4 separate regions of the Homo sapiens genome follow, and all the other regions are linked to region 2. The links are contacts of gene promoters, found by promoter capture Hi-C in human tissues and cell types (Jung and others, 2019). All regions are on one chromosome and are shown on one strand. The core of a region is centred on a gene start or on the middle of the fragment in contact, and the rest is flanking DNA. Distances in the headings are between cores, read along the strand shown.

Region 1 (2,807 bases), core at 155-2,654, 1.3 Mb before region 2:
GCCTCAGCCTCCCAAAGTTGTAGGATTACAGGCGTGAGCCACCAGGCCCGGCTGAGCCGGCATACCTTATATGAAGCTGTGGCAGGGACACGTGGGCTGGGTGCTGACACAAGTGTCCAGAGCTGTCCTTCTGCTCAGCCAGGGAGGCCGGAGGAACTGATCTGGGAGGCAAAGGGTGCAACTCGATTGATCCAAATATATACGTCCACTCACTGACACTTAGGGGAGGGGTTCCAAGCAGAGGGCAGGAGGGCAGCACCAGCGAGGATTCCTCAAGTATTGTCATCCCAGGCCTGCAGAGAGGAGAATGGAAGGGTTTTAGGCAGGGGAGATACAAAGTCATCGCAATCTGTATTCTAGGAGCATCCCCTACTCTGTGGAGATGGGGTAAGGGGAGCAGGATAGGGATTGAGAAGCCGTTGTGGCTGGGGAGAAGAAAACGAGGTATAGGCCGTGGGAGGAGTGGGGAGGAAGGGTCTGAGGTGCTACCCATCTCTGGCTGGGTCCCTGTCACTGGGTGGCAGGGAGCAGGGTCTTGGGTATGGTCTGGAACCAGAGGACGTGTACTTGTGGTCATAAGGCTGGGGGAAAAGATTCCAGGGCCCTGGAGAAAGTCAGTGCTTGAGGTGTGGACAGGAAATTTCGGAGGAGGGCTCAGGCGCCCATGAGGTCAGGAGGCTCTAGACAGAGAGCCCCAGAGCCACCAGAGGAAAAGGAACTCGAGAGAAAGATGGAGGAGCAAACAGAGGGAGGGGAAGGGGGCAGGAGGTGCAGCTCCCCCAAGAGGGGGGGCAGGAGGTGCAGCTCCCCCAAGAGGGGTGGCAGCCCTCTTGGGAAGATGAGGACAGAGCCCCAGGGAGGCCTGGGGTTGGCAAAGGGAGCCTGCAGTTTCTTTGTGGGTGCGGGGGCCTCAAGGGCTACGAGTCTGAGCTGTGCGTGTGTTTGGACAAGTCCCCAGAGTGTGTGTCTTCCTGGGGTTCCTAGACTGCGAGTGGCAGTGGCCCGGCGGCGGAGGCCGTTTGGATCCCTGTGTGAGCTGTAGGGGGCGCCCTGGGCGTCGGGCCCAGGTCAAGTGCGAGATAGGAACGGGGTGCGGGGGCCGATGAGAGCTCCCCGCGGGAATGTCCGCTGTGGACGCCCTCGGAGGCCCCATCTAACTCCAGGGCGGCGAGCGTGGCCGGGCCCAGTTCACGGGCTGCTCGAGCCCTGACGAGGCAGCTGGGGGCTGTCTGGCGTCCACGCTCACGTTCTGGGCCGGCGGACCCCGTACCGGCCAGGCCGTGGCGGCCACGGGGGCCCGGAAGCGCCGCCGCCAGCTGGCCCCGCACGGAACTGTGTCCCGACGCGGCGCGCGCTGTCGCGATCCGGCGGCGGGTGACGTGGCGGGGCGGGGCCTGAGCTGCCGCGGCGGCGGCGGCGCGACCGAGCATCCTGGCGGCGCCGGGCCACTGGGAGGTAACGGGCTGGGCCATGGGCGGGCGCGCCGGGAGCGGGGCCGGGGCTGGGCCGCGTTCTGTGGGAGCCGAACCCTGTGGGTCTTCGCTGCCGCCGTCGGGAGCGGGATGCGGCCCAGAAACAGCGCGGGGCTGGCCGATCGGGGCCGCGCGAGAGGCGCTGCGGGTGAGGGGGGGCGCCACGAGGAGAGAGGGACCTCGAGCGTGAGGGCCGAGTGTGGGAGAAACGCTGTATGGGTGCGAGCCCCGGAGGCTGATGGTGACCGCGAGGGAGCCAGTCTTGGGGTGTGCTGGCGACGCGGCGAGTGTGAGGGAGACCGGGGGTGTGTGTGGAGAGGGAAACCCCAGGTGCGAGGGTGACCGGGACGCTGAGTGCGCGGGCCGCGCCGCGAGCGTGAGACTGTGCGACGGTGACCCTGAGTGGGGCTGTGACTGCGCCTCCGACTGCAGGACGGAGAACCTGTGCTGTGTGGCGGCCGCGGTGGGGCAAAGAAAGACGCGGGCTCAGGACCTCAGGAGCCAGGCTTCCTGGGGCTGTCGCAAGAATGACGATTATCATTTTAAAATCAGTCCTTTTACTTTAGAGAATGCCGCAAGGTTTTGTGGCGTGCTGGAGCCTGGAGCGTTGGGCTGCTGGCGCTGGGGAACCCGCGTGCCCCTGGTGATTATGGCTCTTTTGAGCGTCCCTATAGCCTGTCATCTTGTGTGACTATCTCTCCTGAATGTGGGGAGATAGACGTGAAACATTCTGAAAATTCTTTGCTGGGCTCTAAGCAAACATGTTGTGTAATGGTCAGTATAAATAGGAATCAGGGTGTCGGCGAACACGTTTTTGAGTACCTCTTGTATGCCCTGGGCTTGGTGACACAGTTAAAAAGAATTCAGTCTCTGCCCTTGATAGGGGAAAAAGCCAGGGCAGCTCATCTCGCAGGGCGGCTGTTCAGTGCCCAGCCATCCGGGGCTTGTCTCTCAGAACTGCTCCCAGATTTCAGATCTGGGAGGAGCAGACTTGAAAGGCTGTGAGTACTTCCTTATATCAGTTCCACCTCTTTTTGGTGGCGGTGAGGCCTTTTGGGGACCTGCCCAGGCTGCCTGCATTACTCAGGTCCCATGTGTGCTGCGCAGACGGCTTTTGCTTCCCAACTTTGATCTCAGATCGTTATTCAAGTCGTTACACTGGAGTTTATTTTCCTGGCAAGTGTGTGGAAAACCACCAGCCTGATTTTCTCCTCTCTTCCTCTCCTTGTCCTCCTTCCCTATTTGGCCGTGGATGTATTTTTATTGCATATACCGGTTTTATGATCCCCATCTCCCTGGAACTTCTTAGTAGAAGAAATTTCCTGACCTTTGTGC
Region 2 (2,700 bases), core at 15-2,514:
CTGAGAGCTTCTTACCCCAACCCTAGCACTCCAAGTCCCGAGAACTGCTCAATTTCATGGGAAAAAGTCTCTATAATTATATATATATGTATATATGTGTGTATATATGTATGTATATATATGTGTGCATATATATACACATACACATATTACAACAGACTGATTTTCATGAGTTGTAACTATCCTTGTAGATAAAAAACGAAACCATTCGAATAGCTTAAAAACCATGCCCACGTGGCTACTGGCATCAATATTCCACACAAGATTAAAATTACTTCCCAAGATGCACACCCTGCACTCCAGGTAATATTTCAATAACTTGATTAAAAATTTCTCAGAAGTCTATTAGAATCAGAAAACGCTCTGCGGTGTGGGTGAGGATTTTAAATTTTTGCAACGGAAACTTTTGGCTCCACGAACAGAAAAGCAAGAGCAAAAACTCAGTTAAATGCGTTCTTCCTCCATCTTTGCCTAGTCCAAAAGGAAAAAAAAAGAAACAGAAAAAAGAAAAACTGTTTGGAAGAGTAGCGTTGAGGTTTGCTTTTTACCTGTTTTTCCTCTAGAACAGCCAGGTGGATTCACATGATCCAATTTTTTAATTGTCTTCTATGTCCCACTCCGAATAACCCGGATGCCCCAGCACAATCAGAGAGATCGTTTTTTTTAAAAAAAATTTCAGCCTCCAAAGGTAGGAGGGGAGTGTTAGGGGAGAAAGTACTTTAATTAAAAATCAATAACTCGAGGTTTTTGGGATACGGTTTGCCATTTCCTAATTAAGAAATGGGTTTGACAGTCCCTTTGTACACACTGCTATGCAAACCCCAAAGGGTTGGCGGCTGTCCGGGCGATGACACTCCGGTCCCCTGCGAGACCCCGGGCCAGCCAGGCCCGTCCGCCGCCGGCCTCTGGGGTCCGTCCCCGGCTCGCGCAGACCTCTCGCTTCTCTCGGCTCTGTCTCCTGCGCTCAGCTCTGCTCGGGGCCGGCCGCCTCAGGCTCGCCGCCACCAGGTCGTTGCAAATACCTTTTCCCTCCCCGGGGCCCCAGCGCGCGGCCACCTCCCAGCCTCCCCCCCTCCCACCCTGGCAGCGGGGCCCTTTCCCGGCTCAGGAACAGCAGCAGCCCGGGCCGCGCCGGCAGGAAGCGAGGCCCATGTTGCTGCTGTTCCCTGGCGCGCCTCCCCGCCCTCCGGGGGCCGCCACGGCTCTTCCGCGCTCCCGGGCACCCCCCTCCGCGCCTGCGCTGTGCCCCACGGGGGCGGGGCTCAGATTCCTGTCAGCGGCGGCGGCGGTGGCGGCGACCGTCAGTTTTCGCTGAGGAGAAACACGAAACGGACCCTTTGGCTCTCCCCCTTCCCCTTCCCCGTCCTGAACCCCTCTCCTGGTCACCGAGAATCAGTCCCCGTGGAGTTCCCCCTCCACCTCGCCATCGTTTCCTCGGTCCTCGGCCCAGTGGAAGTCACTACCCTCGAGGAGGAGGCAGCGGCAGCCGCCCTCGCGTCGCCGCCCCCGGTTCGGTGCCCGCGGTCCCGGAGAGGAGGTGCCGCCGCCACCGCCGCTCCCCCCCTCCCGCTGCCCTCGGGCCGGGCTGGGTCGAGCTGCGATGCCCTCGGACTTCATCTCATTGCTCAGCGCGGACCTAGACCTGGAATCGCCCAAGTCCCTCTACTCGCGAGGTGAGTCAGGCTGTGGGGGGTGGGGCGTGGGGGCGGGGAGACAGGGAGACAGGGAGACAGGGCCAGGGGAGGCGAGGGGTCCCCGTCCCGCCGGGGGCGGCTGAGCCGCGACCCCCATGGCTTCTTTGGCCGGAGCGGGCAGAGGCCGAAGGGATCGGGGTGACGGTGGAGGGGGCGGGCGGAGCAGTGGCGGCCCCTCCCCCGCGGAGCCGCCGGCCGCTCGGGGCCCAGATTCCGTCGGCCCCCGGGGCTCTGCGGCACCGGTCGCTTCTAGCCGCTCTCAGCCCGTCCGGCCCCGCCAGGCTCCGCGAGCCGCCGGCCCCGGCCTCCCGGGCTCGGGGATGGCCCCAGACTGGGCCCCGCGCTGGGGCCACCGCGATCGGGGCGCCGCGTCTTCTCTTACCGGGACCCTCCTCCCCAGCAAAGTTGCCCCCAAGCGGGCGGCGTGGCCTGGAGCCGGTTCTGAGTGCAGGGTCACCATTTTCCTCCCTTTCCAGCTTGTTTTTGCGCCGTCGTTCCACCCCCTCTCCCTCCGGCCTAGTCCACTCCCTCCCCATGTTGGGACAGCCCCCCTCGACCAGGCGTTCTTCCTTTCCTCGTCATCTTCTTGCTGGAAAGGGCCCGATGGAAAGGGCCCGAATTTTCTTTTCTTTTTTTTTCTCTTCCCACCTCCGTGGCATTCTAATTACTTCTCCCTTCTCCTTTACAAAGATGGGGGTGCCCTCTCTGGATTGGTTTTATTCCTCTCCTCTCCCAGGAGGACCAGCCCAGGCACAGACGCTGTCCTTTGAGAATTTTCTCTGCTTTTCCGTTCAAGGGCTGGTTGCAGGGAGGGAGCTCAGGCAGAGACTTTTCATTTAAGAACTCTTTTGGCTAAGGCCTGCAGGGGATTCCCAGCATCTGAAATATTAGCACTGGAGCTGATCCCTACTCAGGTGAAATTCCTTTACTGGACACCACAAGAATGTGTCAGAACAGGTTCCCTGTGCAAGGGGCTTCAAAACCAAAATATTCCCACTGCGCTCTT
Region 3 (2,700 bases), core at 20-2,519, 1.0 Mb before region 2:
CCTGCCTCAGCTTTCTGAGTAGCTGGGATTACAGGCATGCGCCACCAAGCCTGGCTAATTTTGTATTTTTAGTAGAGACGAGCTATCTCCATGTTGGTCAGGCTGGTCTCGAACTCCTGACCTCAGGTGATCCGCCAGCCTCAGCCTCCCAAAGTGCTGGGATCACAGGCTTGAGCCACCGCACCCGGCATAAAGCATTTATTTTTGAATGTTCATATTTTTGATAAAGCAGTGTGACATCAGGAACATTTCGTTGCAGTCATTTTCTACCATGTTGGTATGCAATGCTCTAATGTTAAGAAATCAAGCTGAAATCTAGGAAATGTAGCCTGAATGTCTGTGATATATAAGACATAATTACATAAACGTAATAGCTGTATCTAAAAGTTGACCTATCTTTGTGTTGAAAATTTCCATCGGGCCGGGCGCGGTTGCCCATGCCTGTAATCCCAGCACTTTGGGAGGCCGAGGCGAGTTCGAGACCAGCATGACCAACATGGAGAAAACCTGTCTCTACTAAATATACAAAATTAGACGGGCCTGGTGACGCATCGCATGCCTGTAATCCCAGCTACTCGGGAGGCTGAGGCGGGAGAATCGCTTGAACCCAGGAGGCGGAGGCTGCGGTGAGCCAAAATCGCGCCATTGCACTCCAACCTAGGCAACAAGAGCGAAACTGTGTCTCAAAAAAAAAAAAGAAAATTTCCATCATTGTTTGCTTGTCCCAAACAAAATCCTGCGTAAGGGGATACGAAGTAATGAAATAACACGGCAGTAGATCTGCCTTTGCACATTGCTCAGGAGGCCACGGATTTGTCCGAAGTTTCTTTTTTCTCTAAAATGAGAAATGGAAAATTGCCTTTTGAAGAAGATGTAAATGCCCCACCCTCTGACGCTGTCTCACTCCCTTCCTGTGTCACTCTTACCGCTGAAGTCAGGACCTGACATTATCTTGTTGACATGTTTGCGTTTTTATCGTCAGCCTCGTCGAAAGGGGCGTACGATTGCTCCCCGAAACCAGGGTCTTTCCCGGCCGATTCCCCAGCTAGCAACAAGCCCCTTGCAAAGAGGAGGCGGACAGTGACTGGAATACAGGGACACGCACACTCGAGCCACACTGGCCGCCTCCCTCGGCCCTCGCAAGGGTCCCTAACGCGCCTTCGGAAGCCGCCTAGGCGGGGCCTGCGCGCGCGGGCCTCTGGGAAGTGTAGTTCGCGCGCCCGGCGTGGACCCGGGGTTGCAGGAGCGAGGCTCCGAGTGCGCAGGCGCACTTCCAGTTCTGCCCCACCGCTGCGGCCATTGTCCGACCCCGGTGCGGCTGAGGCCCCTTTGGGCAGCCCCTCCGCAGATCAGAATTGGAGATAACCGAGGCTTCGGCGGGGGCGGGAGGAGCTGCCCGAGGCTCTGGGTGGGCCGGAGGTCGCGAAATCCGGAGCCCCCCAGAGGCGGTGATTCTGAGTGCGCGGGTCTGGGCGGGACCCCTCCTGGGTTTGGCGGGTGTCAGCCGGGCCTCGCCCACCACCCTGCGAAGGGGACTGGGCGTGGCCGGAGGGGGGTGTCCGGGAGGCCGCTGAGCCTTTCATTTCGGGGATGGGGAGCGGCAGGCCCGGGCTGGTTCCACGGTCCTCGCCACCATCTCCCCTGGAGATGTGGTTTAGGGGCGGAGGTGGGGCGGGGCGGGGCGGGGTGGGGTCGGTGTTGCAGCGGGGTGAGTGGGCCCTGTCCTTTCTCCCCAGCTCCTGCCCCGGAGCCGGGCCCTGGCGAGGCAGGAATGGCCCCGAGGCCTCCGACCGCCGCGCCCCAGGTGAGCAACGCGTTCCTAACCTCCTGGGCATCCCATCCATCTATCCATCCCATCTCCCAAGGGTGTTTGGAGCAGTCATTGTTCTCTGCCTGGCGACTCCCTTACTTGCTTGGCTCGATCGGAGCCTCCTGGCCATGGAAAACCCCAGGCTTTGGGGAGCTGGATTCCCAAAGGGGAGGCTGCTCTGTGGGGTAGAGAGGGCCAGTGTGGTGCGATCTTGTGGGAGGAGTTGAGATTGGATGCGTTGGGAAGTGTCAGTTTTGAGAGTCCTGAATGCCACGCCAGTTTTTTGAACTCTTGTCAATAAGAAATGGAGAGAGTGGGGTCACAGGATGGAACACTGTAGAGGAGGAAGTGACTGTCGGCAAGTGTGGAGAGAGGAGCCCCAGCTTCTGACCCAGGGCCCATAGAGAGTCCGTAAGGGGCCGTAGAAGCCTGGTTAGAACATGTCTAGGAAGAGGCTGGAGATGGGCTTTCTTGGGCAAGGAGGCAAAAACAAAACAAAATAAAAAACAACCAAAAATAAAACCAGGGCTGATTCTCCCAGAGCTTTTTGTGTCTGTCCTTTTCTGCTTTAACAAAAATGTAATAGAGCAACTCACTCCCCACCGCCAGAAGTCCAGCCTTCACCTTAATGTGAGGCTGATTCGTGAACCCATTTATTCTTGTGGCAGAGGGGGCATTTTCTAGAAGCGTCACAACTCTAAGGTTATCCATTGATTTACATATTGGTGAAAATACATCAAGATCCAGATGGTATCTGTATCTTTGAATCTACATTCTCTTTAGAATTAAGGGAAAATGACAGATTGTAGTTGCTAGGTGTGTGAGACATCAAGATCAATTCAAATAAAAATACCAAGTTGCCAGGTACAGTGGGTCACACCTGTAAGTCC
Region 4 (2,700 bases), core at 128-2,627, 1.0 Mb before region 2:
CTAATCCCCAGCATGAGCACGCTCCAACCCTATGACCTAATTACCTCCCGAAGACTCCCACCTCCTAATACAATCACATTGGTGAATTGTGGAGGGACATAAACGTTCAGCCCATGGCAGCTGCTGACACCCGCTCCTAAAGCCCCTTGACACCACCTGTTGGCACCACCACTGCCTACATCCCCAAATGCCAGGCCTGACTTTTCCAATCAACCTTGGCTCTTGTCCCTTACTCCTTGGACCCCTTTCTTAATTTCTGGTCCTGAGACATAGAACACAAAGAACAAGAGCTCTTCTCTCTCAGGGTTGTTGTGAAAATTAAACGAAATAAGAGTTTAAGAGCATAAACTGGGAAATAATAAAGATAATAGATTGTTTGACCTAGATGCAATTGTAGATCATAGAAAATATCGATGAATGTAGACCGGAGATAGGATCTTGTTCTAGAAAGATGCATACGTTTTGAATTGACACAAGAATAAAGTACATTTTAGGCCAGGCAAAGTGGCTCACACCTGTAATCCCTACGCTTTGAGAGGCAGAGGTGAGAGGATCACATGAGACCAGTTGTTCAAGACCAGCCTGGGCAACACAGTGAGATCCCATCTCTACAAAAAACCTTTTAAAAAATTAGCCAGGTGTGGTGTTGCACACTCATAGTCCCATCTACTCAAGAGGCCAAGGCAGGAGGATCATTTGAGCCCAGGAGTTTGTGGCTACAGTGAGCTATGATTGCACCACTGCACTCCAGCCTGGGTGACACAGGGACACCCCTATCTCTTAAAAAAAAGAAAGAAAGAAAACGAATTAGCTGGGCATAGTGGCACCCGCCTGTAGTCCCAGCTTCTCAGGAGGCTGAGGTGGGAAGATCTCTTGAGCCTAGGAGGTTGAGGTTGCAGTGAGCTGTGATTGTGCCACTTCACTCAGCCTGGGCAACAGAGTGAGGCCCTGTCTCAAAAAATAAATTAATTAAATAAAGCACATTTATTTAAAGAAAGAAATTAAATGACATATAAATAATATATGTATAGTCCTACAAACGTGACTCATAAAATATAACTATAAAACAATTTCTATTTGTCTCCCTTTGTCCTTTACACTGACCCTATGGAGTTTCTTTTCCCTTTGTCCCTCATTGAAATTTAGGCTAAGTCCCCTGACAACCCCTTCTTTGCCCCTTGGCCCAGGAGTAACCTTCAGTTTCTTTCTGCCAATGTCTTTTTGTTCTTCCCAGGAGGCTTTTTTTTTTTTTTTTTGAGACAGAGTCTTGCTCTGTTGCCCAGGCTGGAGTGTAGTGGCGCGATCTTGGCTCACTGCAGCCTCTGCCTCTGGGTTCAAGCAATTCTCCTGCCTCGGCCTCCTAGGTAGCTGGGGTTACAGGCGCCGGCCACAATGCCTGGCTAATTTTTGTATTTTTAGTAGAGATGGGGTTTCACCATGTTGGCCAGGCTGGTCTCGAACACCTGACCTCATGTGATCTGCCTGCCTCAGCCTCCCAAAGTGCTGGGATTACAGGCGTGAGCCACGGCGCCCAGCAAAATGTGCCTTTCTGATCTCCACCAACTACCTCCAGGGAGAATAATGTTCCCCTGGTTACATTGTGAGAATGGGTAGGCCAGAGAGGAGAAGGGTACCCCAGCCAGCTCTGGGAATGTGGTGGGTCTGGCAGTGTCCCAAGCAGGCACTGAACAATTCCCACATTGGCTACTCTGCTAGATATTTTGTCCCTTTAAGGATTTACTCATTGATCCCACTGAGAGAAGAATTATGAGGCCACTTGCTCAGTGTGACCAAAGGGGCCACAGAAGTGCCAGGTCAGGAGGCGGAATGAAAACCATACCCCAGAAAACAGAAGAGGAGGAGGCTGGGGAGGAAGGCGGTGGGTGGGTTGGGGGCAGGGAGGACCCTGAAGTCAGTTGCCTTGGGGAGAAACCCAGGGTCTGAAGGTAACCCAGACACTCTGTCCCCAGGGGGAGGGGTCTGGATCCCATTCTCCGAGTGGCCTGGGAGGAGACAGACGGTCTGGGAAGGCGAGGCAGTGCCCTAAGAACAGCCACACCAGCAAGCTTATCTCAGATGATTAAATGGCAGCAGATAAATTTAACTAAACGTGAGTAATGGGGACACAAAGGGGAAGTGAAGAGAAATAGAATATTTTAGCAACATAAGGAAATGAGAAGAAAATGACTTTGCAATGAAATGTCAAACTTCTGTGCCTGGAGGAGATGTAATCTGGTCATTGCAGGCCCAGGAGAGCGGGGGAGTCTGTAGTTATTTCAAGCAAATTTTAATTCACTTTAATTTAATAACATATGACCAAATACCTTTGAGAGAGTGGCAGGGGACAGAACTGGAAATCAGAGAGTGCCAGCCCTGTGAACTGAGGTGTTTCTTATTTGTTTTTTGCAAGAAGCTGTACTTATATTAATTCATTCATTAACCCATTCATTCAGGGCATGAATATTAAAGGCTGAGGATTAATAAAATATACAACTCAGCTTCCCCCCGGCTCACAGGAAATCCTGGCCAGCTAGGAAGACCGACAGATGAACAGAAAGTTGCAATGTAGGGGCCAGGTGCGGTGTCTTATATCTGTAATCCCAACACTTTGGGAGGCCAGTGTGACAGGATGACATGAGGCCAGTTAAAGACCAGCCTGGGCAACAAGCAAGATCCCATCTCTATAAAAAATACAAAAAT

Evidence for each region. Contacts are between HindIII fragments. The study calls those that stand out against the background at their distance.
Region 1: the fragment with the promoter of SLC7A6 here is called in contact with the fragment with the promoter of NFAT5 in region 2 in 1 of the 25 tissues and cell types used here (liver).
Region 3: a contact is called between the fragment with the promoter of ZFP90 here and the fragment with the promoter of NFAT5 in region 2, in 1 of the 25 tissues and cell types used here (hippocampus).
Region 4: a fragment that was not itself captured here is called in contact with the fragment with the promoter of NFAT5 in region 2 in 1 of the 25 tissues and cell types used here (dorsolateral prefrontal cortex).

What each region holds. Positions count from the first base shown.
Region 1 is chr16:68,263,122-68,265,928 of GRCh38, forward strand. SLC7A6 (solute carrier family 7 member 6) reads left to right here and starts at 1,405. Exons shown (of 11, transcript NM_003983.6): 1 at 1,405-1,455. It overlaps LOC124903704 (a long non-coding RNA gene), which reads right to left and starts at 1,336. Exons shown (of 3, transcript XR_007065096.1): 1 at 1,247-1,336; 2 at 66-293. RefSeq lists a silencer at 1,291-1,570 and an enhancer at 1,943-2,807. The HindIII fragment of the contact is 30,530 bases long and covers 1-2,807 here.
Region 2 is chr16:69,564,702-69,567,401 of GRCh38, forward strand. It overlaps NFAT5 (nuclear factor of activated T cells 5), which reads left to right and starts at 1,265. Exons shown (of 15, transcript NM_138713.4): 1 at 1,265-1,673. The coding sequence starts at 1,601. It overlaps MIR1538 (microRNA 1538), which reads right to left and starts at 1,167; the gene lies at 1,107-1,167. RefSeq lists an enhancer at 1-229 and silencers at 891-1,270, 990-1,166, 1,461-1,730, 1,751-2,060. The HindIII fragment of the contact is 19,415 bases long and covers 1-2,700 here.
Region 3 is chr16:68,538,022-68,540,721 of GRCh38, forward strand. It overlaps ZFP90 (ZFP90 zinc finger protein), which reads left to right and starts at 1,270. Exons shown (of 5, transcript NM_001305203.2): 1 at 1,270-1,458; 2 at 1,737-1,804. The coding sequence starts at 1,772. The HindIII fragment of the contact is 20,432 bases long and covers 1-2,700 here.
Region 4 is chr16:68,515,795-68,518,494 of GRCh38, forward strand. It overlaps LOC105371321 (a long non-coding RNA gene), which reads right to left and starts at 223. Exons shown (of 4, transcript XR_933693.3): 1 at 1-223. The HindIII fragment of the contact is 5,166 bases long and covers 1-2,700 here.